Regions from separate parts of the Homo sapiens genome. Here regions 1, 2, 3, 4, 5 and 6 are each linked to region 7. Evidence: promoter capture Hi-C in 16 types of primary human blood cells and fetal thymus (Javierre and others, 2016). All regions are on one chromosome and are shown on one strand. The core of a region is centred on a gene start or on the middle of the fragment in contact, and the rest is flanking DNA. Distances in the headings are between cores, read along the strand shown.

What was found. The method cuts DNA at HindIII sites, captures the fragments that hold promoters and counts their contacts. A CHiCAGO score of 5 or more calls a contact.
Region 1: a contact is called between a fragment that was not itself captured here and the fragment with the promoter of LINC01562 in region 7, in 1 of 17 cell types (naive CD4 T cells). The highest score is 6.5, in naive CD4 T cells.
Region 2: a contact is called between a fragment that was not itself captured here and the fragment with the promoter of LINC01562 in region 7, in 5 of 17 cell types (naive CD4 T cells, M2 macrophages, megakaryocytes and 2 more). The highest score is 9.7, in naive CD4 T cells.
Region 3: a contact is called between a fragment that was not itself captured here and the fragment with the promoter of LINC01562 in region 7, in 2 of 17 cell types (megakaryocytes and M1 macrophages). The highest score is 6.6, in megakaryocytes.
Region 4: a fragment that was not itself captured here is called in contact with the fragment with the promoter of LINC01562 in region 7 in 1 of 17 cell types (M2 macrophages); the score reaches 5.6 in M2 macrophages.
Region 5: a fragment that was not itself captured here is called in contact with the fragment with the promoter of LINC01562 in region 7 in 2 of 17 cell types (activated CD4 T cells and total CD8 T cells); the score reaches 5.3 in activated CD4 T cells.
Region 6: a contact is called between a fragment that was not itself captured here and the fragment with the promoter of LINC01562 in region 7, in 12 of 17 cell types (fetal thymus, naive CD4 T cells, naive CD8 T cells and 9 more). The highest score is 9.4, in fetal thymus.

The regions. Positions count from the first base shown.
Region 1 is chr1:50,802,676-50,806,478 of GRCh38, forward strand. The region is part of intron 2 of FAF1 (Fas associated factor 1); the gene reads right to left. Among named protein-coding and RNA genes, the nearest start is that of FAF1, 160 kb to the right of the region's middle. The HindIII fragment of the contact is 6,777 bases long and covers 1-3,803 here.
Region 2 is chr1:50,783,127-50,786,686 of GRCh38, forward strand. The region is part of intron 4 of FAF1 (Fas associated factor 1); the gene reads right to left. Among named protein-coding and RNA genes, the nearest start is that of FAF1, 180 kb to the right of the region's middle. The HindIII fragment of the contact is 746 bases long and covers 1,430-2,175 here.
Region 3 is chr1:50,852,346-50,856,464 of GRCh38, forward strand. The region is part of intron 2 of FAF1 (Fas associated factor 1); the gene reads right to left. Among named protein-coding and RNA genes, the nearest start is that of FAF1, 110 kb to the right of the region's middle. The HindIII fragment of the contact is 592 bases long and covers 1,030-1,621 here.
Region 4 is chr1:50,836,310-50,839,936 of GRCh38, forward strand. The region is part of intron 2 of FAF1 (Fas associated factor 1); the gene reads right to left. Among named protein-coding and RNA genes, the nearest start is that of FAF1, 120 kb to the right of the region's middle. The HindIII fragment of the contact is 4,774 bases long and covers 1-3,627 here.
Region 5 is chr1:50,869,663-50,873,595 of GRCh38, forward strand. The region is part of intron 1 of FAF1 (Fas associated factor 1); the gene reads right to left. Among named protein-coding and RNA genes, the nearest start is that of FAF1, 89 kb to the right of the region's middle. The HindIII fragment of the contact is 268 bases long and covers 1,256-1,523 here.
Region 6 is chr1:50,766,838-50,770,437 of GRCh38, forward strand. All of the region lies in intron 4 of FAF1 (Fas associated factor 1), which reads right to left. Among named protein-coding and RNA genes, the nearest start is that of FAF1, 190 kb to the right of the region's middle. The HindIII fragment of the contact is 1,786 bases long and covers 876-2,661 here.
Region 7 is chr1:51,233,018-51,237,056 of GRCh38, forward strand. It overlaps LINC01562 (long intergenic non-protein coding RNA 1562), which reads right to left and starts at 2,079. Exons shown (of 2, transcript NR_147076.1): 1 at 1,948-2,079. RNF11 (ring finger protein 11) reads left to right here and starts at 3,256. Exons shown (of 3, transcript NM_014372.5): 1 at 3,256-3,862. The coding sequence starts at 3,740. RefSeq lists a silencer at 3,041-3,520. The HindIII fragment of the contact is 11,293 bases long and covers 1-2,928 here.

The sequences.
Region 1 (3,803 bases), core at 848-3,347, 430 kb before region 7:
TTCTCAGGAAAACAAAACAAAAACAAACAAACAACAACATAAGCCCAACTTTTCCAACTCTGTCTTTATACCATAACAACTTCTCCTTCCCTACCCTTCCGTATCCACATCAAAATGAATAACCCACAAAAACAAAAAACACCTACCAATTCAATGTTTTATCAGCTGCCTGGAAATCAACTGCCAAAAGGAGTTTGGGTATTTTGTGAAATACTAACTTAAGTATTTGCCACAGTTTTGTCAAATTCACACCATCGTACTGTTGAATGGAAATAAATAGAGTGTAGGGTGTTTGCTATGAATTTTGAGAGCTGTAATGTTCCAGTGGAAAAATAAAACAAATCCATAGATTAACATAGACAATAGATACCACAGAACCCTGACGACTCTGGAGGCTTGTAAATCCTTTGAGTAAAGCAAATGCTAAAATCAGTTTTCAAAGACACAAATTCAGTGGAAGTATTTCTGCCCAGTATCAAGTTAACTATCCTCTTTTGGTCAACAGCATTGGTTCCATGTACATGTATCTCCTTTACTAAGTAACAGTAAATGGTTAAGAGAATGCTCTGTGGTGCTGGAAAAGAAACAAAATACCAGAGCTTAGAAAGATTTGGTTCAAATCTTTCAAAAAACATTTTCACTGAGGAATGCCAAAGTATAATGGGAAGAATACTAAGGACTCAGAAAGTCTAAAGTCTGAAACCAGGCTCTCCCATTTATTAATTTTGTAACCTTAGTATATTCACTGAACTTATCTGAGCCTCAGTTTCCTTATCTGTGTAATACGTAATTGTATAATGAGCTAAACATTACATACTCAGCCACAAAAGTCCTACCTTTTTGTTTCTCAAAGGCCTGTCTGGCATAGTGTCTGCACAATAAAGGCACTCAATAATTATTTATTAAAGGAATTAATAATAGAGGAATACAAAGAAAAGTCACCTATTCAAGACTTAAAGCAGGCTCAGAAACACCTGGATAAAATAATGCCTCACCTGAGGCTGAAGAATGAGTGAAAAGTAGCAAGATGGGGAGGGGATTCTATACAGAAGGAACAGTGATACAAATCCACTTTTCAACCCTTTCCTTTCCCAAAACCTTAGATTATTAAATAGTTAATTTATCTTGGAGAAGTTAGCAAGTGACCTCAATCTTATGTACAGCAAACTCTGTACATAAATAAATAAAATGTAATCCAGAATAAAGGTACAATAAAAGTATAATTTGGTAAAGGAATAGAGAATAGGGAAACAGATTTTTGACTGTGATGATTAAGGAAAACTTTAGGGAAGAGGGAACATTTGATCTATGCTTCAAACAATGGGAAGATACAGAAGCAAAGGAAAATTCCAGATTCCAACATGTTCAATTTTGAACATGTTAACTTTCAGGTCACAGGAGAATATCAATTGTTCATATAATAAATGTGTATTAATTGCCAACTATGTACCAAGCACTATGCTAGACAATTAAGACATAGTGATGAACATAAGACAGCTTGCCTTCTACGTAGGACCAAGTATATTCAACAATTAGTTTTACTATGAAAAATTCAGCTAATACCAAAATGGAGATGTCCAAAAAGTAACTGAAAAATCACAGCTACGTTCAAGAAAGCAACATCTGCTTAAAGGCAAATAAACGAAGCCCTAGAAATATTTTAATTCACTCCCTCACTCAGCTATCTTCTTTGTTGAAGAAAAAGGAGATGAAGATAAAATCTGGAGTAATTCATTAAAAACAAAACAAATAAAAATAAAAATGTAAAGGACAGACAGGAGGAAAAAGACTGGGAAAGTGTTACAGAGGAGGCAAAGAAGAAACTATAAGGAGCTATTACACAAAAGCTAGAAAATCTGAAAATACACTAAAATTATGAGGCCTAAGGTTATTAGACATAGTTTAAAACAGTTTAACAATAACTAAATTATAAAAGCTAAAAAGATACATGGGAAACTAAGAATAATTGACTCTCTTAAAACATTTGTGTGAAAAGCATAAAGACAGAAACTGTAAGAAGAACAGCTGCAGTAAGTTTTTGTTTGCTTTTTTTCCCTCCATAAGAATATTGATTTCTTGAGTTTATAGAATCCACAGGAAAGAGAGACAAAAAAAGCCACAAGAAACAGGGATAAAATTGAAAGTTTGGTTAAATACAACACTCTTACCAATTGCCTATTCATTGCCAAGCACTACGCACTACTTTGTGGATAGCCCAGTACCTGATCTAGGGCTCAGGAGAGGGGCTCAGATGGAGGGGATACTTTTAGAAAAGAGATCAATAAGATCTGGACTGTAGACTAAAAATTATACTGAGTTTATTATAAGAACTATATCACTTGCTAAATACTAACTATCTCATTGCTTAATATTATTTTTGCTAGGAAGATATTATATCTCTCACTCTATAATAGGAAAATGATAGACTGATTAAATATTTGGTCAAAATAATAGAGAACAGAATCAGGACAATATCTCCATTTCTGAGACTGACTCAAACAACTATGGTGGATCATTATCATACTGTAATGTATTTTAAGAAGAACATCTTGCCTTGACCTAGTTTATACTCATTTGAAACTCCATTTTGGTATAACTATTACTGCCTTCATGCTAATTATGTTCATATTTTTAATCCAATTAATGTACCTCAATCAAAATCCAGCCCCTAAATTCTGTTTAGCAAAACTGACAACGAAAACAATACCCTCTAAAATGCCATCTTCCATAGCACACTAAAAGGCATGTAAGGTATGCATAAAATACAGTGGAAGCCAATGTCAGAGATGACCAAAGGAGCCTTAACAAAAGGGGAAAATCATGACATTCATGGTGGGCTTTAGACCTTTTGGGGGAAGGAAATGGCAAAAATTTCTATAAATCTCATTGTAACATCACATATGAAAGGAAACCAAGTCACTGGTAAATTGGTAGATTACAAAACAGTGGCATGTAATATAAATCATACCCTACATGGAATGCTAGGATATCCTTTCTCTAATATACAGAAAATCTTAACTTTAGTCCTTTTTTGTAAACAAAAGACCCTTAAAGAAAATGGCAATGACAAATTTTTAAGAGGAATGAAGATGAGACAGGGATGTAGAGACAGCATCCAAAAGCCTCAAAAATAACTTATGAGTAAAGGAGTTGTGGTAACAATAATGGCAGCTAACACTGTACCATTTTTATTAAATGTGAGGCATTTTCAAAGTACATTACATATATCAATTCATTTAACTCTCACATTACCTCAATTTTACAGAGAAGGACACCAAGAAAACAAAGAAGAAAACTGTCACAACAATGGGTAGGCAAATGATGAAAAATAAAGAATTGCTAAATTGGACATTAAAATTCATAGTGTTTGCCCTTTGAAAGATACCATTAAGAAAATAAAAAGACAAGCTGCAGACTAGGAAAAAGTATTTATAATACATGTATCTGAGATAGATTTATATTAAAAATTTATAAAAATTCTGGAGACTTAACAAGACAAGTCAATAAGAAAATGGGGGAAAGTCAATAAGAAAATGGGGGAGACAGACACTTCTCAAAAGAAGGTATGTGAATGATGAAAAGCACATAAAAAGATATTCAAATTAGTCATCAAACAAATACAAGCTAAAACCACAATAAGATACCACCACACACCCAATGGTTAAATTAAATCAGATAATACAAGTATTAGCAATAATATCAAGCAACAGAACATCTCATACACTGTACAAACAACTTTCAAAACTGTGTGATAGTTTGATATACAGGTAAACATGTGACGGAGGCAGCCGACACCAGTGGAA
Region 2 (3,560 bases), core at 553-3,052, 450 kb before region 7:
TCCTAGAAACATACAACCTACCAAGACTGAATCGTGAAGAAACAGAAAATCTGAACAGACATACAACTAGTCTGTTATAGAGAGTGAATCAGTAATCAAAAATCTCCCAACAAAGAAACATGCAGATGGTAACATTAGGGCATGTTACCGAACATTTAAAGAATTACTGCCAAGCCTTCTCACACTCTTCCGAAAAACTGAAGGAGGGAATACTTCCTAACTTCTTTCACGAGGCCAGCATTACATCAATACCAAAGCCAAAGAAGCTATCAGACGAAAAGAAAACTACAGTCCAATATCCCTGATAAATACAGATGCAAAGATCCTCAACAAAATATTAGCGAAACTAAATTCAACAGCACATTGAAAGTGAAACTAAATTCAACAGCACATTAAAAGGATTACACACCATGGCAAAGTGAGATTTATCCCTGGGATGAAAGGATTATTTAACATAAAAAAATCGGCCAGGCGCGGTGGTTCACGCCTGTAATCCCAGCACTCTGGGAGGCTGAGGTGGGCGGATCACTTGAGATCAGGAGTTTGAGAACAGCCTGGCCAACATGACGAAACCCCATCTCTACTAAAAATACAAAAATTAGCCAGGCATGGTGGCTGTGTGCCTGTAATCACAGCTACTGAGGGGGCCGAGGCATGAGAATCACTTGAACCTAGGAGGCGGAGGTTGCAGTGAACCAAGATCACACCACTGCACTCCAGCCTGGGTGACAGAGTGAGACTCCATCTCAAAAACAACAACAACAACATATGAAAATCAATCAATGTGATACACCACATTAAAAGCAAGAAGGATAAATGTCACACAATCATCTCAATAAACAAAAAGCTTTTGACAGAAGTCAACATATTTTCATAATACTGAACAAACTAGAAATAAAAGGAAATAACCTCTACATAATAAATGCCATATATGAAAGTCCCACAGCTAACATCATATTCAAGGGTTAAGAACTAAAAGGTTTTCTTCTAACATCAGGAACAAGCTAGGATACCTTCTCACCACTTCTATTCAACGTAGTACTGGAAAGCCTAGATAGAACAATTAAGCAAGAAAAACAAAAGACATCCAAATTGGAAAGGAAGAAATACAACTATCTTTGTTTACAGACAACATGATATTATATGTAGAAAACACTAAGGATTCTACCAAAGAAAAAAAAAACTTAGAACTAATAAATAATACAAAATTCATCAATCTTTTATAAGATGCAAAATCAACACATAAAAATCAGCTGCATTTCTATATACTAACACTGAACAATCTGAAAAGAAAATTAAGAAAACAGTCCCATTTACAATAGCTTCAAAAAGAATAAAATGCTTATGAATAAACTTATCCAGAGACAAAAGACTTGTCCACTAAAAACTACAAAACATTGCTGAAAGAAATTAAAGACGACACTGGAAAAGCTTCCCATGGTCATGGACTGAAAAATTTAACATTGTTAAAATGTCCATACTATCCAAAGTGATCTGCAGATTCAATGCAATCTCTATCAAAAGCCCAATGGTATTTTTTGCAGAAATAAGGAAATAATCCTAAATATCATAAGTAACCACAAGGAACTCCAAACACAATTGTGAGAAAGAAGAACAAAGCTGGAGGCCTCCTACTTCCTAACTCCAAAACATATTACAAAGCTAGAGTAATTAGATCAGTTTGTTAGTGGCATAAAGACAGACACACCAACTAATAGAACAAAACTGAAATCCCAAAAATAAACCCACACGTATACAGTCAAATGATCTTTGACTAGAGTGCCAAGACCCCACAATGTGGAAAGGATAGTTTCTTCAAAAAATGGTACTGGGAAAACTGGATATCCACATGCAAAAGAACTTGGAACCTCATAACCTCATAACATACACAAACATCATCTCATGGTATTGTGTGAATTAAAGACATAAACATAAGACTTGAAACTATACGAGCAAAGACCTTGCTACTGTCCTCCAGCCTGGGTGACAGAGCAAGACCCTATCTCAAAAAAAAAAAAAAAAAAAAAAAGACTTGAAACTATAAAACTTGTAGAAGAAAGCAGAAGAGAGGAAATGCTTTATAACACTGATCTTGGCAATGGTTTTTTGGAAATGACTCCAAAAGCAGAGGCAATGAAAGAAAAAATAGACAAGTGGGACTTTATCAAATTAAAAAGCTTCTGCACAGAAAAGTAAACAACAGAGTAAAAAGGCAACCTACAGAATGAGAGGAAACATGTGTGAACCATATATCTAATAAGGGGTTAAAATACAAAATACAGAAAAACTTCTATAACTCAACAATAAAATATCAAATAACCCATTTAAAAAAATGGACAAAGGACTTGAATAGACATTTCTCCAAAAAAGACATACAAATGGCCAACAGGTATATGAAAAGATACTCAACATCACTAATCAGACAAATATAAATCAAACCCACAATGAGCTACCACTTCACATCTTTTAGGATGGCTACTATACAAAAAAAAAAGGAAAGAAAAGAAAAGGGAAAGAAAAGAGAAAAGAAAAACAGAAAATAATAAGTGTTAACAAAGTTGGGGTTGGAATGTAAAATGGTGTAGCTGCTATAGGAAACAGTATGGAAGTTCCTCAAAAAATTATAAATTAAACTACCATCTAATCCAGCAATCCCACTTTTGAACATACTGCCAACAGAATTGAAAACAGGATTTCTATGAAATATCCACACTCCCATGGCTGGGCACAGTGACTCATGCCTATAATCCCAACACTTTGGGAGTCTGAGGCAGGAGGATCACTTGAGCCCAAGAGTTCAAGACCAGCCTGGGAAAGAAAGTAAGTGAGACTCCTTCTCTACAAAGAAAAAAAAAAAATTAGCCAGTCATGGTGGCACACGCCTATAGTCCTGCTACTCAGGAGGCCAAGGCAGGGGGACTGCTTGAGCCCAGAGTTTGAGGCTACAGTGAGCCGCGATCACGCCACTGCACTCCAGCCTGGGTGACAGTGTGAGACCCTGTCTCAAAAAAAAAAAAAAATCACATTCTCATGTTCATTGCAGCGTTATTCACAACAGCCAAAAGGTATAAACAACCTAAATGTCCATTTATGATGTTAATGACTAAAAAAAATGTGATATATACACACAATGGAATATTATTCAGTTTTTAAGAAGAAGAAAATCCTGCTATATGCTACAACATATATAAGCATTGAGGACATTATGCTAAGTGAAATAAGCCATCACAGCGGGCAAATACTGCATTATTCCACTTCTATGAGGTATTTATAGTCAAACTTACAGAAACAGAAGATAGAATGGCAGTTGCCAGGAGTTTGAGGGAGGGGAAAATGGAAAGTTGCTATCCAATGGGTACAGAGTTTCAGTTATGTAAGATGAAAAAGTGCATAAACAATCTTGTGCTGTACACTTAGAAATATATTGACAGGCTAAATCTCATATTATGTGTTTTTTACCAAAATTTTTTTAAATAAAAAACAATCTACAGGAGAATATTTGGGGGCATGCAAATGGGTACAGGGTGAAGGGGTTTATCTAGAAGAATAATCTACATAGA
Region 3 (4,119 bases), core at 76-2,575, 380 kb before region 7:
CCTAAAAGTAAGCTTGCTAATAACTCAATCAGTCAAGTATTCATTAGGCAATTACTATATGTCACAGACAAAATTAATAAGAAACACAATTCCCTTCCTCTAGAACTGAGAATCTATTTGAAAACAAAGCAGAAATGTATTTAGAGTAAAGCACTACTATGTGATTACAGCCAAAGCTCAATATGATATTATTTATAAGTGGTAGGAAGAAAAAAGCCAGTACAGAGAAGAAAAGCATACTAGGTAGGGAAAATGTGATAAGTAATCTTAAAATGTGGTTTACCGCTATGACAATTCCTCATGAACTGACAGGCCTGGGTTCAAAACTTTACCCCTTAACAGCTATGTGAGCTTGGACAGTTTACTTAACTTCATTAGCCCTCAGTTTCTCATCTATATAATAAAACTAACATTTACCTATTTACTTTTGGGGACTGCTGTGAGGATTAAGTGAAATAATGTAAGTGTATCACTGGATATGATGCCTAACACAAAATAAACCCTCAATTAAAGAAGAGACAATAGAAGATGGAATGGTTGTCAGGTTAAAAAACAGAGAAATTGAAAAATTTTGTAAATAATGGGCTGTAGCAAAGAAGCAGAAATTGATATGATGAGCTATTCTTTCACAGTAACTTATCTTTTGTTGTAGCAAGCATCTGTGCAAATATAAACCAGTGTCTGATAGCCACTGATGAAGGGCAGTGCTCAATGCTTGGCTGCTTTCGGATGAGGACAGAGACTCATTATTATCAATGGTTAGTCTATTCATTCATAAAACTGCAGGTGTTCATAACACTGTATAAAGTAGAAAAGCAGTGCACATTTGAGGACCTCTACAGCCACATCCTGAGCAGAGTAGTGGAACTGCTACATGAAATTTTAGGGCAAACATTAAGATATGTTCCTTCAAAAGTGAAAATTGGAGGAAATTTCTCAAAGTACCTCAATGGATCTTAAAATGAGGCAGATTATGTGCAGTACAATTTTCCTTAGTTTTGACTCTTCAGTGTATATGACTGTACTATAAGCTTCTATTAGTACAAAATTATCTTCGAGGACTAAAAATTCCATGACAATATAGAAACACATATGCGGATTTGTTTCACTCTTGTAGGTTGAAACATGTAGTTAAAGACAAATATAAGCACTCTGAATAGAGTCTTTCTTCAGCAAAACAGCAATGTCAGCACAGGCAGCAAACTACAGCAGAAATTGAGTGCAAAGTTCAAAAATCATTTCCTAAGAGTATCAAGTACTTAAAACGTAGTATGGCTAGGTTAATGTTTACTTTCACTTTATTTCACTTAACATTGGGTTATCAAGTATATGTCAGATATCTTTCCCTGGATCTGCTACAGATTATTGGAAATTTTAATTTATTGAAGGAGTTTCATATCTAGAGACCGTGTGTAAAATAAGTGGCAGAGCATCTTCTCCTGCCATCATCTACACTATAAAGTTGTCAAAATAATTTTTAATAGTATGTATACAAATGTTTCAAACTTATGAAGATCTATTAAAAATCTGTACTACTATTTATAATTGACTGCTATTCATTGAATTTTAACAAAAAATTAGGACAAAATAGATCCTTCAGAAATACTTCATATATCATGGAAGCTTGAGTATAATCTAGGGTACAAACCCTTCATTTTATATGAGGAATTCAGAAGTTAGAGAGAAGTAACTTAGCCAAGGCCATACTCAATAAATTACTAAGAGGTCTGAAAAGCCAGGGCTCTTCATTCAATTAATGCAGTGTGTTTACCACTATAGCTAACATTTTGATTAGTCAAAATTACACAAGCCATATAGATTTTTATTCTCCCCTGACCCAAATTCTTCTATAGTGAAAACAGAAAGTGAGACGTGGGTCAATTCTGGGGCCCAGATTAGAATTTATAATGTTCATGTAGCACACTTCCACGGAAAAAGACAGCCCTTTGGTAAAAGATTCTAACTCACTGTCACTAGTTCTTCCTTATGTACTTACCTTTCTGGGTATAAATGGAAAATACTCATCTCAAGGGAGGAATCTCAGCTGTAATGACATTCATCTTCTCTTAACTCTAAGCGCAGGACAATGTGAAAAATGGTAACAGTCAGAGGGAGATAACCTTGGGACAGACCTACAGGGTTCCTGTCAAGTAAAACAGTAGGCTGAGACATTTCCTAAAAGTATTAGTACATGTAACTTTGTTTTCAGAATTTTGACATATATAATCTAACCTGCAGTTACCCCAAAATAAGTGGAGCCAAGTGTAGAGTACTTAAAACATAGAGTTTGGAATACCTCTTTTGCAGACAGCAGCCCACATAACAAAAATAATGTGCCAGGTCTGGGAAAGTGACTAATAATCAGAACTCCTAGGACTGGGCTCTATTTTCCTATAGAATAGCTGTTATCAGTGTGTTTAGATCTACAAAATAGCTAAAATATTTGCAATCACCGTTTTTTTAGGAAGTTACTTTGAGCATCCCTAATCCAAAAATCCAAAATCCAAAGTGCTCCAAAATCCTAAATCTTTTGAGTGCCAACATGATGTTCAAAAGGAAATGCTCGATGGAACATTTTGGATGATGTTTGAAAGGAAATGCTCGATGGAACATTTTGGATGATGTTTGAAAGGAAATGCTCGATGGAACATTTTGGATGATGTTTGAAAGGAAATCCTCGATTGAACATTTTGGATTTTAGATTTTTGGATTAGCGATACTAATATTCAACAGTATAATGTAAATATACCAAAATCTGAAAAAATCCAAAATCTGGACATTCTTTTGGTCCCAAGCATTTCGGATAAGGAATACTTGACCTGTGTAATACACACAGATCAGAGATCATGTGTCTTATTGATTTTTTAGCACAATTCTCAAAGTTAGAGACTACATCTTGTTATATTTTTTAAGCCCCCACTCTTTATCTAGCAAAAATCTGGATGCACTGTAAGCACTCAGTGCTCACTGAATGTGTTTTTTTATTAGATTTTTTTTAAGTTCATCACAATTCCAGATTGTAGTGCCTAACTCAGATTCCTTTACATTTCCCTAGCAAAAATGTGCACAAAAACACTGGAGAAGAGGTCCAAGTGATATGTGCAGGAAATATAAAATACAGACATATCCGAGGTTACAACTCAATTAATGCAAACTGTTCTGTAAACCCTAGAAAATGCAGATCAGTGATAGTCATAATTTATAAACACAAACTATAACACACAGGCAAAATATAGAGGACATCACATAAAGTTCCATGATGCTACTGAAAAGTTTAAACTAGTGATGGATTATTCAAAATATTTGTTTCATTTTTAAAAACAACAAAGTGAATGCTGCATGAAAACAGGATAAATGATAAAATGTAAACAGCAAGATAGTTACAAAGCACAATAAATCTTTACTGTGAATAAAAGTGAATTATTTGTGAAGAAAAGCCAGCTAGGAGATAGACATATCTCAAAAGAAAGCCAAAATTTAAGGTTCTGAAAGATAGCCTGATGTTTTTGCTTGGGCCTGATACAGTGTATGATTGCATTTCTGCACAAATATAACACCAGTGTTTTAACCCCAAGTGTTGTTAGAATATTCTCCAAAATAAAATAACTCAGAAATAGTGGAAGAGTACCTTACCATTCAATTATTCAACATTATCTGGGAAAATTCTCCTTTTACAATATTCTGCATAGGCTGTACTGATAAAAATATTCACTACCAGTAAGTGTTTTAACCTTCAAAATTAGTGGACACGAACCAATAGGAAGCAGATAAGGAAAGAACATATATCCATCCCCAAAACTGGTAATTCCTCCATTAAAGACTTGTACTCCCAGCCCACCATCACCCTTTCCTCTATTCCATATCCCTCTTACAAGTATCATGCAAGAGGGGCTTGGAGGAATTTTTAACCACCCCAATAACTTCCATCAGCCTCTCTAATAGACACTCCCAAAATATACAACTAAATAAAGCAAAGCACTTATTATTGCAAAAGAAGACTCAAGACAAGAAACTTGGGAGCATCGTTTCGATTAAGCCACTGCTCTTTCTCCCTTCCTCTACATGGCAATCATGGAGCTGTCACCTATATCATGCTTTGTTGGAGTATAGCAACAATGG
Region 4 (3,627 bases), core at 59-2,558, 400 kb before region 7:
AATAGCATGAGTCACCATGCCCAGCCATGTTTTGTAAACTGTAAAACATTCTAAAATCATGGAGTAGCATTATTAAACTGTAGGAAACAAAATAATAAATAAGTATTGAACATATATTCAATAATCTCTTACAAATGGTAATGTTAGGGACAAAAATTGGACCAAAATAGTAAGTTGCACTGTCCTAATATTACAGTTTATTCTTTGTGGAGATTTTGTCCCCAGCTTTTTAAAAAAATTTCCATCTAGAGAAAACTTGAAAGAAAAGTACAATGAACATCAATGTACCTTTCACATGGATTCAATAATTGTTAATACTCTGACAAGTTTACTTTCATCCTTTCTGGCCAAATACATATACCATTTCTTTCACATTTGAAGGTAAATTGCAACCTTATAAACATACACAATTATTATGTGTCAATTAAAAATAAAACAATTTTAAAAGAAAGTAAATTGCAAGCATTATGACACTCTGTCCCAGCATTTAATCTTAAGAATAAGGATATTCTCTTTATAACCACAATATCATTATCAAAGTCAAAAAAATTAATATTGACTCTATATTGCAACTACAAAATAGTACATATTTGAATTCTTCCAACTCTTCCAATTGTCTCTTACAAGTGTATGTTATGTTTCTTTTTTTTTTTTTTTTTTTTTTTTGAGATGGAGTCTTGCTCTGTCGCCCAGGCTGGAGTGCAGTGGTGTGATCTCGGCTCACTGCAAGCTCTGCATCCCAGGTTCACGCCATTCTCCTGCCTCAGCCTCCCGAGTAGCTGGGACTACAGGCACCCGCCACCATGCCCAGCTAATTTTTTGTATTTTTAGTAAAGATGGGTTTCACTGTGTTAGCCAGGATGGTCTTGATCTCCTGACCTCGTGATCTGCCCATCTTGGCCTCCCAAAGTGCTGGGATTACAGGCGTGAGCCACCGTGCCCGGCCATATGTTATGTTTCTTGTTCTTGTTTTGGATCTAGATCTACTTGGGGATCACGCATTGTTGTATTTAGTTGTCTTTTCTCTTGGTCTTCTTGAATCTGGAACAACTTCCCCACCTTTTTGTTTGCTTTACATGCCACTAACAATTTTAAACTATTTTATAGAATAACCTCCAATTTCGACGTGCCTGGTTGCTTCCTCATGATTAGATTCAGTTAAATATTTTTGGCAAGAATACTACATAAGGGATTTCTTTCTTTACAAATATTTTTAAATGTTGATTTGAATATGGATTATATGTTTTCTACAAAAAGAGTAAAACGCTAGTCAAGTAACTTCTATTGTATAAACTCAAAGACAACAATTGAAGGATAATTACTAGATCTAACATTGACCTATAAAGTTTGTACCAAATACATACCCAATCTGGAAAGTAAATTCAGACCTCAACTTTATGAAAATAGTAAAAGATAGGGTTGGGAAAGGGGAAGCTCCTTTTTTTTTTTTTTGAGACAGAGTCTCACTCTGTCACCCAGGCTGGAGTGCAGTGGCGTGACCTCAGCTCACTGCAACCTCTGCCTCCTGAGTTCAAGTGATTCTCCTGCCTCAGCCTCCTGAGCAGCTGGGACTACAGGCGTGTGACACCATGCCCAGCTAATTTTTTGTATTTTTAGCAGAGACGGGGTTTCACCGTGTTAGCCAGGATGGTCTCCATCTCCTGACCTTGTGATCGGCCCGCCTCGGCCTCCCAAAGTGCTGGGATTACAGGCGTGAGCCACCGCGCCTGGCTGGATGCTCCTTTATACAATGTGTCCCTTAAAAACATAAAGCACCTCTATCATCCCTTAAAAAAAAATCAAATCATAAAGGCATGCACAGCTTTTTAAACATATTTTGGTATATCACAACAGGATGGTTTTATGGGCTGAACCATCTGGGGTAAAGCCTGCAGATACCATCAGATGGTGGATGTTTCTTTAAAAAATAAAATAAAATGAAGAATCTATACTTGAGGATATTCATCAACTGATATTTTCAAAGCTCTGAATTGTTTAACAAAAAATTTTATCCTATGAAACTCATGTAAACTATAGTATTAACATATATTACATTAACTTATAATTTTACATGTTAATATAAAATTTTACATTACTTTTAATTTTACATGTTAATGTAAATATAATTTTACATGTTAATGTAAAATTGTAAATTACAAATATATAATTATATATAAATATAAGCTATGTTTTGTTATATATATAATTTTACATTAACATAATTTTACATGTAGAATTATAAATTAAAAATATATATATTTTATATAATTATAAAAATTAAATTATAAATTATAAATACACATTATTCTGCAATTTCTATAGAAAATATCTGTGACAACCAGCTGCTCCCACAGATGTTACTGGGTTTTGCAAATATAAACATTCTAAATAATGTAATTTTCTCTCAGAGAAATAACATGCAGAGGATTTTATTTTGAAAACTCCTTAAATGTGATAACTATAAAGAACACATCACTATTACTATCAGATTTAGTAATAACTCTTTCAAAATTGTAACAATAAAAGTATCCAAATCAGATTCAAATTCAACTCTGGCCAATCCATCAGATGGTGTTCTTTATACACTAACACTGGAAGCTGAATATATGTTTCCAGTATTCACTACCAAATTATAAACCCCTAAGATCAATGTTTGTGACAAAAACACAAGGGGGAAAATATCCAACTTAACTGTGCTACCAGGCACACCTATGACCTCAGGTACTGCTTTTTTTGATGTGATCAGAGCACAAAGAATTCTACTGCAAGAAGCAGAGAAGTTTTCTTCATAAAAATAAATATATGTTTATTATATTTATTACCCTGCTGCTTGCTTAATGACTGCATATTTTGTTGGCAACTGTGCAAGAAAAGCAGAAAAAAAAAGGAGTTCATTTCATTTCTACTATTATTTTTACAAACAAGAAAAAAATCAAGCTACTGCCTACTTATGAGATGCATTTGGTTGCATTAGTTTACAATGACCCCAACACCAAGCAAATGGTCACACACTCCAAGTTCACATACTCCCGCTAAAAATTCACAATATTTGTTTGATATGCAAAGAAGTCTGGTATTAATAGACTTTAGTCGCATTTCATATTTATAAATTACTATTTCTCCAGGTGCTTTATTCAACCAGAATTTCATAAGGCCATGATCACTAATAATAGCCTGACAAGAGAAAAAGATGTCAGTAAGTAAAAGCAATAAAGAAAGGGCCTAAATACTGTTGATCAGATTTTGCTAATTCTAACATTTTATGCTTTCACAGGAAGCAAGAGTGAGGTGTTCTACACAAGGAGACTTATGACCTGTCAGGTCCTTATAATACTTGTATCAAGATGGCTAACGAACCTGTTTAATCTTCAATACCAGAAAACAGTTGGACAAAAACTAGTAATTGAAAAAGAAGAAAGAAAAATATCTGGACATGCCACACTGAAAACAAATACATTACAAATCACATTCTACTACAGCCATCCCAAGATACTTGAACAAGAATAAAAGAAAAAGAATTTCAAAAAGCTAAGGCTTTTCAAATTTAATCAACTTCCAAACATACAAAGCCTAGATCCTGACTGCTTATACTTCAATACTATGAACAAACCCATTCCTCAAAGCCAT
Region 5 (3,933 bases), core at 140-2,639, 360 kb before region 7:
TTTATCTTCTATACCATTTTTTTAAACCTATAGTTTTCCAATTTACCTACCTAGTATAGAGTTTTTTCTTTGAGGATGTACTTTTAGATTCTTTATAAAATCCAATCTATTCTATTTTTTCACTATTTCTGGCTTATAAGTTCTATTCTCTACAGTTTTACATATTTTAAACATATCTACCTTAAAGTCTCTTTGTTACCAGTTCTCAAGTTGTTAGTTCTATGATTTTGGCATCTGCTGAATGTGATTGTGGCTTCTCCTGTGGTATATAACGTCTAACAACTGAGTTCATCTTCAGAAAGATTTATTTTCATACCATGCATTATGATGGTATCCTTATAAAGTGTTTCCTGTACATGCATTTGCTGAACTTTATGGACTTCATTAGTTCTAGACCAGTTTTAATTTGCATGAATTCAATCTTAATCATTTGACAGAATTTTGTATAAGCAAACACATTTTATTACACTCTACAGCACCGTGAAGATATTGCATTTTTAAAAAATTGAAGGGGCCGGGCACATTGGCTCACGCCTATAATCCTAGCACTTTGGGAGGCCAAGGCGGACTGACTGACTGAGCTCAGGAGTTCAAGACCAGCCTGGGCAACACAGTGAAACCCCGTCTCTACTAAAATACAAAAAATTAGCTGAGCATGGCAGCATGTGCCTGTAGTCCCAGCTACTCGGAAGGCTGAGGCAAGAAAATCACTTGAACGCGCGAGGCACAAGTTGCAGAGAGCCGAGATTGCGCCACTGCACTCCCGCCTGGGTGACAGGGCAAGACTCCATCTCAAAAATAAAAAAGAAAGAAAAAATTAGAGGTTTATGGCATCCCTGCATCGAGCAAGTCCATCAGAACCATTTTTCCAATAGTACACGCTAATTGCATGTTTCTGTGTCACATTTTGGTAATTCTTGCAATGTTTCAAACTTTTTCACTATTATTATATATATTATGGTAATCTATGATCTTTGATGTTACTATTGTAATTGTTTTGAGGCGCCACAAACCATGCCCACAAGACAATGAACTTCATCAATAAATGTTGTATGTGTCCTCACTGCTCTGCTGACCTGCCAGTTCCCCATCTCTCTCCTCCTTGGGAGTCCCTATTCTCTCAGACACAATATTGAAACGAGGCCAATTAATAATCCAACAATAGCCTCTAAGTGTTCAAGTCATGTTTCTCATTTTAAATCAAAAGCTTAAAATGATTAAGCTTAATGAGAAAGAAATGTTGAAAGTTGAGATAAGCTTAAAGCAAGGTTTTTTTGCACCAAATAGCCACATTGTGAATGCAAAGGAAAAGTTCTTGAGGGAAATTACGTGTTACTCTAGTGAATATACAAATAATAAGAAAGCAGAACAGCCTTACTACTAATATAGAGAAAGTTTTAGTGGTCTGAATAGAAGATTAAACCAGTCGAAACTTTTGCTTAAGCCAAAACCTAATGCAGAGCAAGGACCAAACTTGCTTACATTCTACGACACAGGTGAGGACACGCAGAAGAAAAGTTTGAAGCTTGCAGAGGTTGGCTCAAGAAGTTCAAGGAAGGAAGTCATCTCCATAACATGAAAATGCAAGGTGAAGCAGCAAGTGCTGATGTAGAAGCTGTAGTAAGTTTTATTCAGGACCTAGCTAATTGATGAAGATGCTTACACTAAACAGCAGTAGTAACATTCTATGTGGATAAAACAGCCTTCTATTGGAAGAAAACATCATCACAGCAAAAGAGAAGTCAATGCCTGGCTTCAAAGCTTCAAAGGGCAGGCTGACTTTCTCATTAGGGGCTAATGCAGATGGTGACTTTCAACTGAAGCCAATGCTTATTGACCATTCTGAAAATCCTAGGTCTCTTCAGAATTATGCTAAATCTATTCTGCCTGTGCTCTCTAAATGGAACAACAAAGCCTGAATGACAGCACATCTCTTTACCATATGGGTTACTCAATATTTTAACCCAGCTTCTGGGACCTACTGCTTAGAAAAACAGATTCCTTTCAAACTATTACTATTCATTGACAATGCACTTGGTTACTCAAGAGCTCAGATAGAGATGTACAAAGAGATCAAAGTTGTTTTTCTGGCTGCTAACACAACATCGATTCTGTAGCTCATGGGTCAAGGATTATTTTTGAATTTCAAGTCTTGTTATTTAGAAAAACGAGGCGGGCGGATCACGAGGTCAGGAGATCGAGACCATCCTGGCTAACACGGTGAAACCCCGTCTCTACCAAAAATACAAAAAATTAGCCGGGCATAGTGGCGGGCGCCTGTAGTCCCAGCTACTCGGGAGGCTGAGGCAGGAGAATGGCATGAACCCGGGAGGCGGAGGTTGCAGTGAGCCGAGATTGCGCCACTGCACTCCAGCCTGGGCAACAGAGCCAGACTCCATCTCAAAAAAAAAAAAAAAAAAGAAAAAGAAAATACATTTCATAAAGCTATAATAGCTGCTGTAGATAGTGATTCCTCTTATGGATCTGGGCAAAGTACACTGAAAACTTTCTGGAAAGGATTCACCATTCTAGATGCCATTCATAATTCATGGGAAGAGGTCAAAATATCAACATCAACAAGAGTTTGGGAGAAGTTGATTCTCACCCTTATGGATAATTTTGAGGGATTCAAGACTTCAGCAGAGGAACTGCAGATATGGTGAAGACAGCAAGATAACTAGAATTAGAAGTGGAGTGTGAAGATATGCATGAATTGCTGCAATCTTATGATAAAACCTGAATAGATACGAAGTTGCTTCTTATGGATGAGCAAAAAAAGTGGTTTCTTGAGATGAAAATCTACTCCTGATGTAGATGCTGTGAACACTGTTGAAATGTAAACAAAGGATTTAGACTATGACATAACCTTAACTGATAAAGCAGCAGTAGGGTTTGAGAGGATTGACTCCAATTTTGAAAGAAGCTCTAGTTTGTGTAAAATGCTATCAAACAGGCTGGGCGCGGTGGCTCATGCCTATAATCCCAGCACTTTGGGAGGCCGAGGCAGGCAGAACACCTGAGGTCAGGAGTTCGAGACCAGGCTGCCCAACATGGTGAAACCCTATCTCTACTAAAAATACAAAAAAAAGTAGCTGGGTGTGGTGGTGGGTGCCTGTAATCCCAGCTACTCAGGAGGCTGAGGCAGGAGAATCGCTTGAACCTGGGAGGCGGAGTTGCAGTGAGCCGAGATTGCGCCACTGCACTCCAGCCTGGGCAACAACAGCGAAACTCCGTCTGGAAAAAAAAAAAAAATTGCTATCAAACAGCACTGCATGCTACACAGAAACCTCTCATGAAAGAAGGCCAACCAATGCAGCAAATGTAATTGTTGTCTTATTTTAAGAAATTGCTAGAGCCACCCCAACTTTCAGCAACCACTATCCTGATCAGTCAGCACCTATCAACGTTGAGGCAAGACCCTTCACCAGCAAAAAGATTAATACTTGCTGAAGGCTCAGGTGATAATTAGCATTTTTTTTAACAATAAAGTGTTTTAAAATTAAGGTACATGCTTTTCTTTTTAAGACATAATGCTACTGCACACTTAATGGGCTACATAATAGTGTAAATATAACTTATATGCACTGGGAAACCAAAAAATTAGTGACTCACTTTATTCAGATATCTACTTTACCGCATTGGTCGGGAACTGAGCCTAAAATAGTTCTCACTTTTTGAGGCTAACGATGCCTTTTTCCCCTATGGCCCTGGGTAAATGGTCACCTTTTTTACTGCTTCCCTGAATCTTCACGAAAATTTTACTAGACATTATTTGAAATGTACACGCCAGGCTTTTATAGCTCCTTCCTTGTATGACAAGACACCAGCAGGACTTACTTCCCCATCTGGGCAAGACAAACTTAAGAAAATGGCCAGAACCTGCAGATGGCGCCAAAAGCAACCTCTAGTGACACTCATTGTTCATTAGCATAA
Region 6 (3,600 bases), core at 519-3,018, 470 kb before region 7:
CAAAGACTGAATGCTCAGCTCATACAGATGAGAAAGAACCAGTGTAAGAACTCTGCCAATTTAAAAAGCCACAGTGTCTTCTCACCTCCACACAACCACACTAGTTCCCCAGCAATAGGTCTTAACCAGGTTGAAATGACTAAAATGACAGAAACAGAATTCAGAATATGGATAAGAATGAAGATCATCAAGATTCAGGAGAAAGCTGAAACCCAATAAAGGATTCTAAGGAATACAATAAAATGATTTGGGAGATGAAAAATGAAATGGCCATTGTAAGAAAGAACCAAAGTGATCTGATAGAGCTGAGAAACTCACTTTAAGAATTTCAGAAGACAATCCAGTATTAACATCAGAATTAGCCAACTGGAGAAAAGAAACCCAAAGCTCAAACACTGGTTCCCCAAAATAACTCAGACTAAAATTAAAAAGACTCAAAAAAGAACAAACAAAACCTCTAAAAAATTTGGCATTACATTAAGAGACCACATCTACATCTCACTGGTGTCCCTGAAAAAGAGGGAGAGAAAGCAAGCAACGTGGAAAACATATTTTAGGATATAATTCGCGAAAATTTCCCCAGCCTCACTAGACATGCCAACATTCAAATATAAGAAATGCAGAGAATGCCTCTGAGATACTATATAAGACAACTATGCCCAAGACACATAGTCTTCAGATTCTTAAAGGTCGAAATAAAAGACAAAATAAAAGACAGCTGGAGAAAAGGGACAGGTAACCTACAAAGGGAACCCCACAGACTAACAGTGTACCTTTTGGCAGAAAACCTATAAGCCAGAAGAGATTGGGGGTTTATATTCAGCATTCTTAAGGAAAAGAAATTCTAATCAAGAGCTTCATATCCTGCCAGATTAAGCTTCATAAATGAATCCTTTTCAGATGAGCAAATGCTAGGAATTTGTCACCACGAGACCTGCCTTATAGACACTCCTTAAGGGTGTGCTAAATATGGAAAGGAAAGACCATTACTAGACACCACAAAAACTCACTTAAATACATAGGCCATTAGCCCTACAAACAATTACACAATCAAGTCTGCATAATAACCAGGTAACAATCCGATGACTGGATCAAATCCACACCTATCAATATAAACTTTGAATGTAAATGGGCTAAAAGCCCCCATTAAAAGGCACAGAGTGGCAAGTTAGATACAGAAGAAAGACCCAACTGTATGCTGCCAAAAAGAGAACCATCACATGTGCAATGACACCCACTGGCTAAAAGTAAAGGGACAGAGAAAAATCTACCAAGTCAACAGAAAACAGAACAAAACAGGGGTTGCTATTCTAACTTCAGACAAAACACACCTTAAACCAAAAAGATTAAAAAAAGATAAAGAAGGGCATTACATAATGCTAAAGGGTTCAATTCAACAAGAAGACCTAACTATCCTAAATATATGCACCAAACATAAAAGCACCCGGATTCATATAGCAAGTTCTTAGAGATCTACAAAGAGACTTAAGATAACCACACAATAATAGTAGACTTCAACACCCCACTGATAGAATTAGATCACTGAGGCAAAAGACTAACAAAGATAAAATCTGAACTCAATATTAGACCAAAAGAACCTGACAGATATCTACAGAACTCTACACCCAAAAACAACAAAATATATATTCTTCTCATCTGTACATGGTACATACTCTAAATTCCATCACATAATTGTCCATAAAACAATCCTTAGCAAATTAAAAAAAAATAAAAACAATAGCAATCACACTACTGAACCAGTGCAATAAAAATAGAAATTGATAGTAAGAAAATCACTCAAAAGCATACAATTTAATGGAAATTAAACAACCTATCCTGAATGACTATGGGGTAAATAATAAAATAAAGGCAGAATTAAAGCAATTCTTTGAAACTAATGAGATCAAAGATGCAATGTAACAGAAACTCTGGGACACAGCTTAAGCAGTGTTAAGAGAAAAGTTTATAACACTAAATGTCCACAGCAAAAAGTTAGAAAGACCTCAAATTAACAATCTAACATCACACATCACACCTAGAGGAACTAAAGAAACAAGAAGAAACCAATTACAAAGTTAGGAGAAGACAAGAAATAACCAAAATCAAAGCTGAACTGAAGGAAACTGAGACATAAAAAAATATACAAAAGACTGAGTCCAGGAATTAGTTCCTTGAAAGAATATGACTGATAGACTACTAAGTAGACTTAAAAAAAAAACAGGAGAGAAAGAGAGAGAGATAGCTCCAAATAAACACAGTCAAAAATGACAAAGGGGACATTACCACCAAACCCACAGAAATACAAAAAACCCTCAGAGACTACTATGAACACCTCTATGCACAAACTAGAAAACATAGAAGAAATGAATAAATTTCTGGAAACATACAACCTCCCAAGATTGGACCAGGAAGAAATTTAATCCCTGAACAGACCAATAGTAAAGTGAAATTGAATGAATAATAAAAAGCCTACCAACCAGACAATGCCCAGGACCAGATGAGCTCACAGTTGAGTTCTACCAGATGCATAGAGAGGAACTGGTATTGTTCCTACTAAAACCATTCCAAATGCTTGAGGAAGAGAGACTCCTCCCTAACTCATTTTATGAGGCCAGCATCATCCTGACACCAAAACCTGGCAGAGACACAACAAAAAATGAAAGCTTCAGGCCAGTATCAATGATGAACATGGATGCAAAAATCCTTAACAAAATACTAGCAAACCAAATCCGGCTGCACATCCAAAAGCTAATCCTTCATGATCAAGTGGACTTTATCCCTGGGATGCAAGGTTGGTTTAATATATACAAATCAATTAATGTGATTTACCACATAAACAGAACTATAAGCAAAAACCACATGATCATTTCAACAGATACAGAAAAGGCTTTCAATAAAATTCAACATGCTTCACGTTAAAAACCCTCAACAGGCTGGGTGTGGTGGCTCACGTCTATGATCCCAGCACTTTGGGAAGCCAAGGCAGGTGGATCACTTGGGGTCAGGAGTTTGAGACCAGCCTGGCCAATATGGTGAAACCCCATCTCTACAAAAAATACAAAAATTAGCTGCGCGTGGTGGCCCATGCCTATAGTCCCAGCTACTTGGGAGGCTAAGGCAAGAGAATCACTTGAACCCGGGAGGCGGACGTTGCAGTGAGCCGAGATCACGCCACTGCACTCCAGCCTGAGTAACAAAGTGAGACTCTGTATTAAAAAAACAAACAAAAAACCTTCAACAAACTAGGCCCTGAAGAAACATACTTCAAAATATTAAGAGCCATCTATGAAAAACCCACAGCCAACATCATACTGAATTGAGCAAAAGTTAGAAGCATTCCCCTTGAAACCAGAACAAGAAAAGGATGCCCTCTCTCACCACTCTATTCAACATATACAGCACTGGAAGTCCTAGCCAGAGCAATCAGGCAAGAGAAAGAAATAAAAGGCATCCAAATAGGAAGAGAGGAAGTCAAACTATCTCTGTTTGCAGATGATATGATAGTATACCTAGGAAACTCCACAATATCTGTCCAAAAGCTACTAGCTCTGATAAACAACTCCAGCAATGTTTCAGGATACAAAATCAATGTACGAAAAT
Region 7 (4,039 bases), core at 829-3,328:
TATCCAGGCTGGAGTGCAATGGCGTGATCTCGGCTCACTGCAACCTCCGCCTCTCAGGTTCAAGTGATTCTCCTGCCTCAGCCTCCTGAGGAGCTGGGATTACAGGTGCATGCCACCATGCCCGGCTAATTTTTGTATTTTTAGTAGAGATGGGGTTTCGCCACATTGGCCAGGCTGGTTTTGAACTCCTGACCTCGTGATCCACCCGCCTCGGCCTCCCAAAGTGCTGAGATTACAGGCGTAAGCCACTGCACCCAGCCCAAGCTAGTTTTAAACTTAACAATATAACTTATTTTCACAAGGCACTATAGAACTTTTCAAGGGCTTGTGTCAGTGTTACCCACCTGTGGAAAAAAAGAATGAAAAACAAAACTTAAAAAAATAAATCTGGCCTGGCGAGCTGGCTCACGCCTATAATCCCAGCACTTTGAGAGGCCAAGGTGGGTGGATCACCTGAGGTCAGGAGTTCGAGACCAGCCTGGCCAACATAGTGAAACCCCGTCTTTACTAAAAATACAAAAAATTAGTTGGGCGTGGTGGTGCGCGCCTGTAATCCCAGCTATTCAGGAGGCTGAGGCAGGAGAATTGCTTGAACCGGGGAAGTAGAGGTTGCGGTAAGCCAAGATCGCACCATTGCACTCTAGCCTGGGCAACACAAGCAAAACTCTGTCTCAAAAAATAAAAATTAAAAAAAATTAAAACTAACTAAATAAATCTATGTCTGGCCAGGCATACAGTGGCTCACACCTGTAATTCCAGCACTTTGGGAGGCTGAGGCGGGAGGATCGCTTGCGCCCAGGAGTTTGAGACCAGCCTGGGCAACATGGCAAGACTTCGTCTCTACCAAAAACAAAAACAAATGCAAGGCATGGTGGTGTGCATCTGTAGTTCTAGTTACTGGAGAGGCCTGAAGCAGGAGGATCACCTGAGCCCAGGAGGTTGAAGCTGCAGTGAGCCTCGATCAAGCCAGCCTGGGTGACAGAGTGAGACCCTGTCTCCAAAACAAACAAACAATGTCTACAAATTCTAGCACTGTGTAAATATTATGTCAAATAATTGTATAAATTATTATTAATAAAAATTTCTTTAGGTTTGACAATAATTTGTGGGGTAAATTTTCTCACTTTGTAAAAATTCCAGGGTACCTCTGATTTCTGGTAAATTTAGCCAATCATAAATTAAATGAGTTCTTGGAAGCTCAACAATTCCAAAACCAAAATTGTGAGTCAGTTTGTTCTTTCTTTCCTTCTTTCCTTTCTTTTTCTTTTTCTTTCTTTCTTTCTTTCTTTCTTTTCTTTCTTTCTTTCTTTTCTTTCTCTTTTCTCTTTCTCTTTCTCTCCCTTCCTTCTTTCCTTCCTTCCTGCCTCCCTTCTCTCTCTCTCTCTTTCTCCTTCCTTTTTTTTTTGAGACTGAGTCTTACTCACTCCCTCGCCCACGCTAGAGTGCAGTGGCACAATCTGGGCTCACTGCGCTGCAACTTCCACCTCCCAGGTTCAAGCGGTTTTCCTGCCTCACCCTCCCGAGTAGCTGGGACTACAGGCGTGCACCAGCACACCTGGCTAGTTTTTGTATTTTTAGTAGAGATGGGGTTTCACCATGTTGGCCAGGCTACTCTCGAATCCCTGACCTCAAGTGATCCACCCGCCTTGACCTCCCAAATTGCTGGGATTACAGACGTAAGCCACCACGCCTGGCCCAAAATTATGAGTCTTTTCAAAAATTTTATATCAAAAAGGTGATATTTAATGTGGAATTTGAGTGCATTTAAATAAGATAGTGACTTCGTAGAATAGGGACTGCAGAGTAAGAGTGTTCAGACCCATTCGAGTTTAATATAGCCCTACCTCTAAGAATCCTTTCTGTTCCTCACTCAAATGAACTAATTGCTGTCTTTCAGTTCCTCTAAAAACCTTGGGGTCCGTGGCAGGGTGTGGGCTTAGGACTCACCTGATTACTTGTCTTCCCAGGTGGTCTCTGGGCTCTATCAGGAACAAGCCAGGTATGATCATCCTTTTCCCCAGTCCTTAGCGTGGGGTCTGGTATACACACGCACACACAACTTCAGTAAATGGTGAATGAAACGAAAGGCAGTCAAGATCCACCTGTTGAATGAACGTCTATCAGGAGCACTGTCATCCTTCTTGCTTCCTTCTTTTGCATATGTTGTTTGAGCTGCTCATTCAACCAAGGAGAGAGCATACTCTACCTTGGGCAGTGTGCCAGCCTTGCACAGAGGGACAGATGATTCAGCTTGATCAGGCTGTGACAGAGAAAAGCTCAGGGTCTGAGAGCACACAGGATGCGACTAACCCAGACTGGAGGGTCAGGAGAGTCTCCCCAGGGGAAATGAAGTTGCATCCAGAAGGATTCCTGAGAATAATGATTAGCCTGATGAGAAGCAGAAAGGTTGGGAGTGGAGGGAAGTGGGTTTCTGTGAGAGAAACAATATGGACAAAGGCCCCAGGCAGAGGCAATAGTATTCCAGATAACGAAAAGCATTTTAGAGAGTCTAGTTTAGAATTTGTGAAGGAGGTGACAATGCTGCTAATGAGATTGAAAGGGAGTCAGATTTGTAAACCATTTAAGGATTGTCTTAAGGACAGCCTTGAGGAGACACTGAAGGTTTTAACAGGAGAATGACATGATCCGATTTAAATTTTAAAAAGATAACTCTGTCAACTGTGCCAACAGTGAATTGGATGTGGGCAATGATGAACTCAGGAACAGCTGAGAGTCTATTGCAGAAGCCAAGGTGAGAGATGATGGTGGCTTGGACTTTGGTGCTGGGACTGGAAAGAAATGAACAATCTGATATACAACTGGAAGAATAATCTCTCTGGCTGTGATGTGGAAGGATAAGGACGTGATTGGACAGGCAGGGATGGTTCAGTAACGAGCTAGGACTTTATTGTGAAGGGATAAAGGGGAAGCTTTTAACATTTTAATCATGGGACTGATCCATTCCGATATGGGTTTATATAAATAGACCGCTTGGCGGAGGGTGGTGAGAAGACTGTCAGGCAGTGCACAGGTAAGAACTGAGCCCTAGACGGGGCAGGAGCAATGAATGTGGGGAGGCGCGGGAGACGGGAGATTGGTTTCGGAGCCAGGTACGGAGCCAAGCAGTCAGAGAGAAGCAAAAATTGACGCAGCACCGAGAACAGCTGCTAGTGGAGAGGGGGATGGGCGCCGCCGGAGCCGCCCTCGCCTCCTGGCGCCGGGGGCGGGACCAGAGCACGCACGGCGCGATGACGCAGTGCCCGAGCCGGCCTCGTTCTGGCTGCCGCCGTCTCGCTGAGGCGGAGTAGGATGAGGCCCGCGGCCGTGGCTCCGGCGTCGGCGGGGGCAGCAGCAGCTGAGGCAGCAGCTGAGGCAGCCGCGACGGCCGCGCCCCCCCCCGCTGACCTGGATTAGGCCCAGCAGCTCCGTGGCCGCCGCCGCCCCGCGGGGGGGCGGGGTGGGGAAGTGCTTCGTCTCCCCGCCCCCCCCCCCCCATCGCTGCCTCGCAGGAGGCGAACGCCGCGACCCCAGCGGAGCCCGCGGCCCAGCCTTGATCCCCCAACCCCGGGGGCTGGCATGAGCGGCCCCTCGGCGGCACCGTGGGGCGGTGGAGTCGCCTCCGCCTGATCCCCGGCCTGTCGCCCGACCCCACCTCGCCAACCGAGGCGGACCGCGGAGTGTGCGAACGACCCCACCGCTGCTTTCTCCTCCCCCAGATCACGCACCCCAGCTCCGGAAGATGGGGAACTGCCTCAAATCCCCCACCTCGGATGACATCTCCCTGCTTCACGAGTCTCAGTCCGACCGGGCTAGCTTTGGCGAGGGGACGGAGCCGGATCAGGAGCCGCCGCCGCCATATCAGGTAGGGGAGGGTGTGTGTTGGGGGGAGCGAGTAGAGGCAGCTCTGGCGGAGATTGAGGGGGCTTCGGGGCCGTCTCTGCCCCTGGCTTCGGCAAGGCCTGGCCTGGGCGGCATTGACCCCTTAGGGCTGGATCTGAGGGCATTTGCTCTCTGATCTCAGAGTAAGGTTGATTCTTCG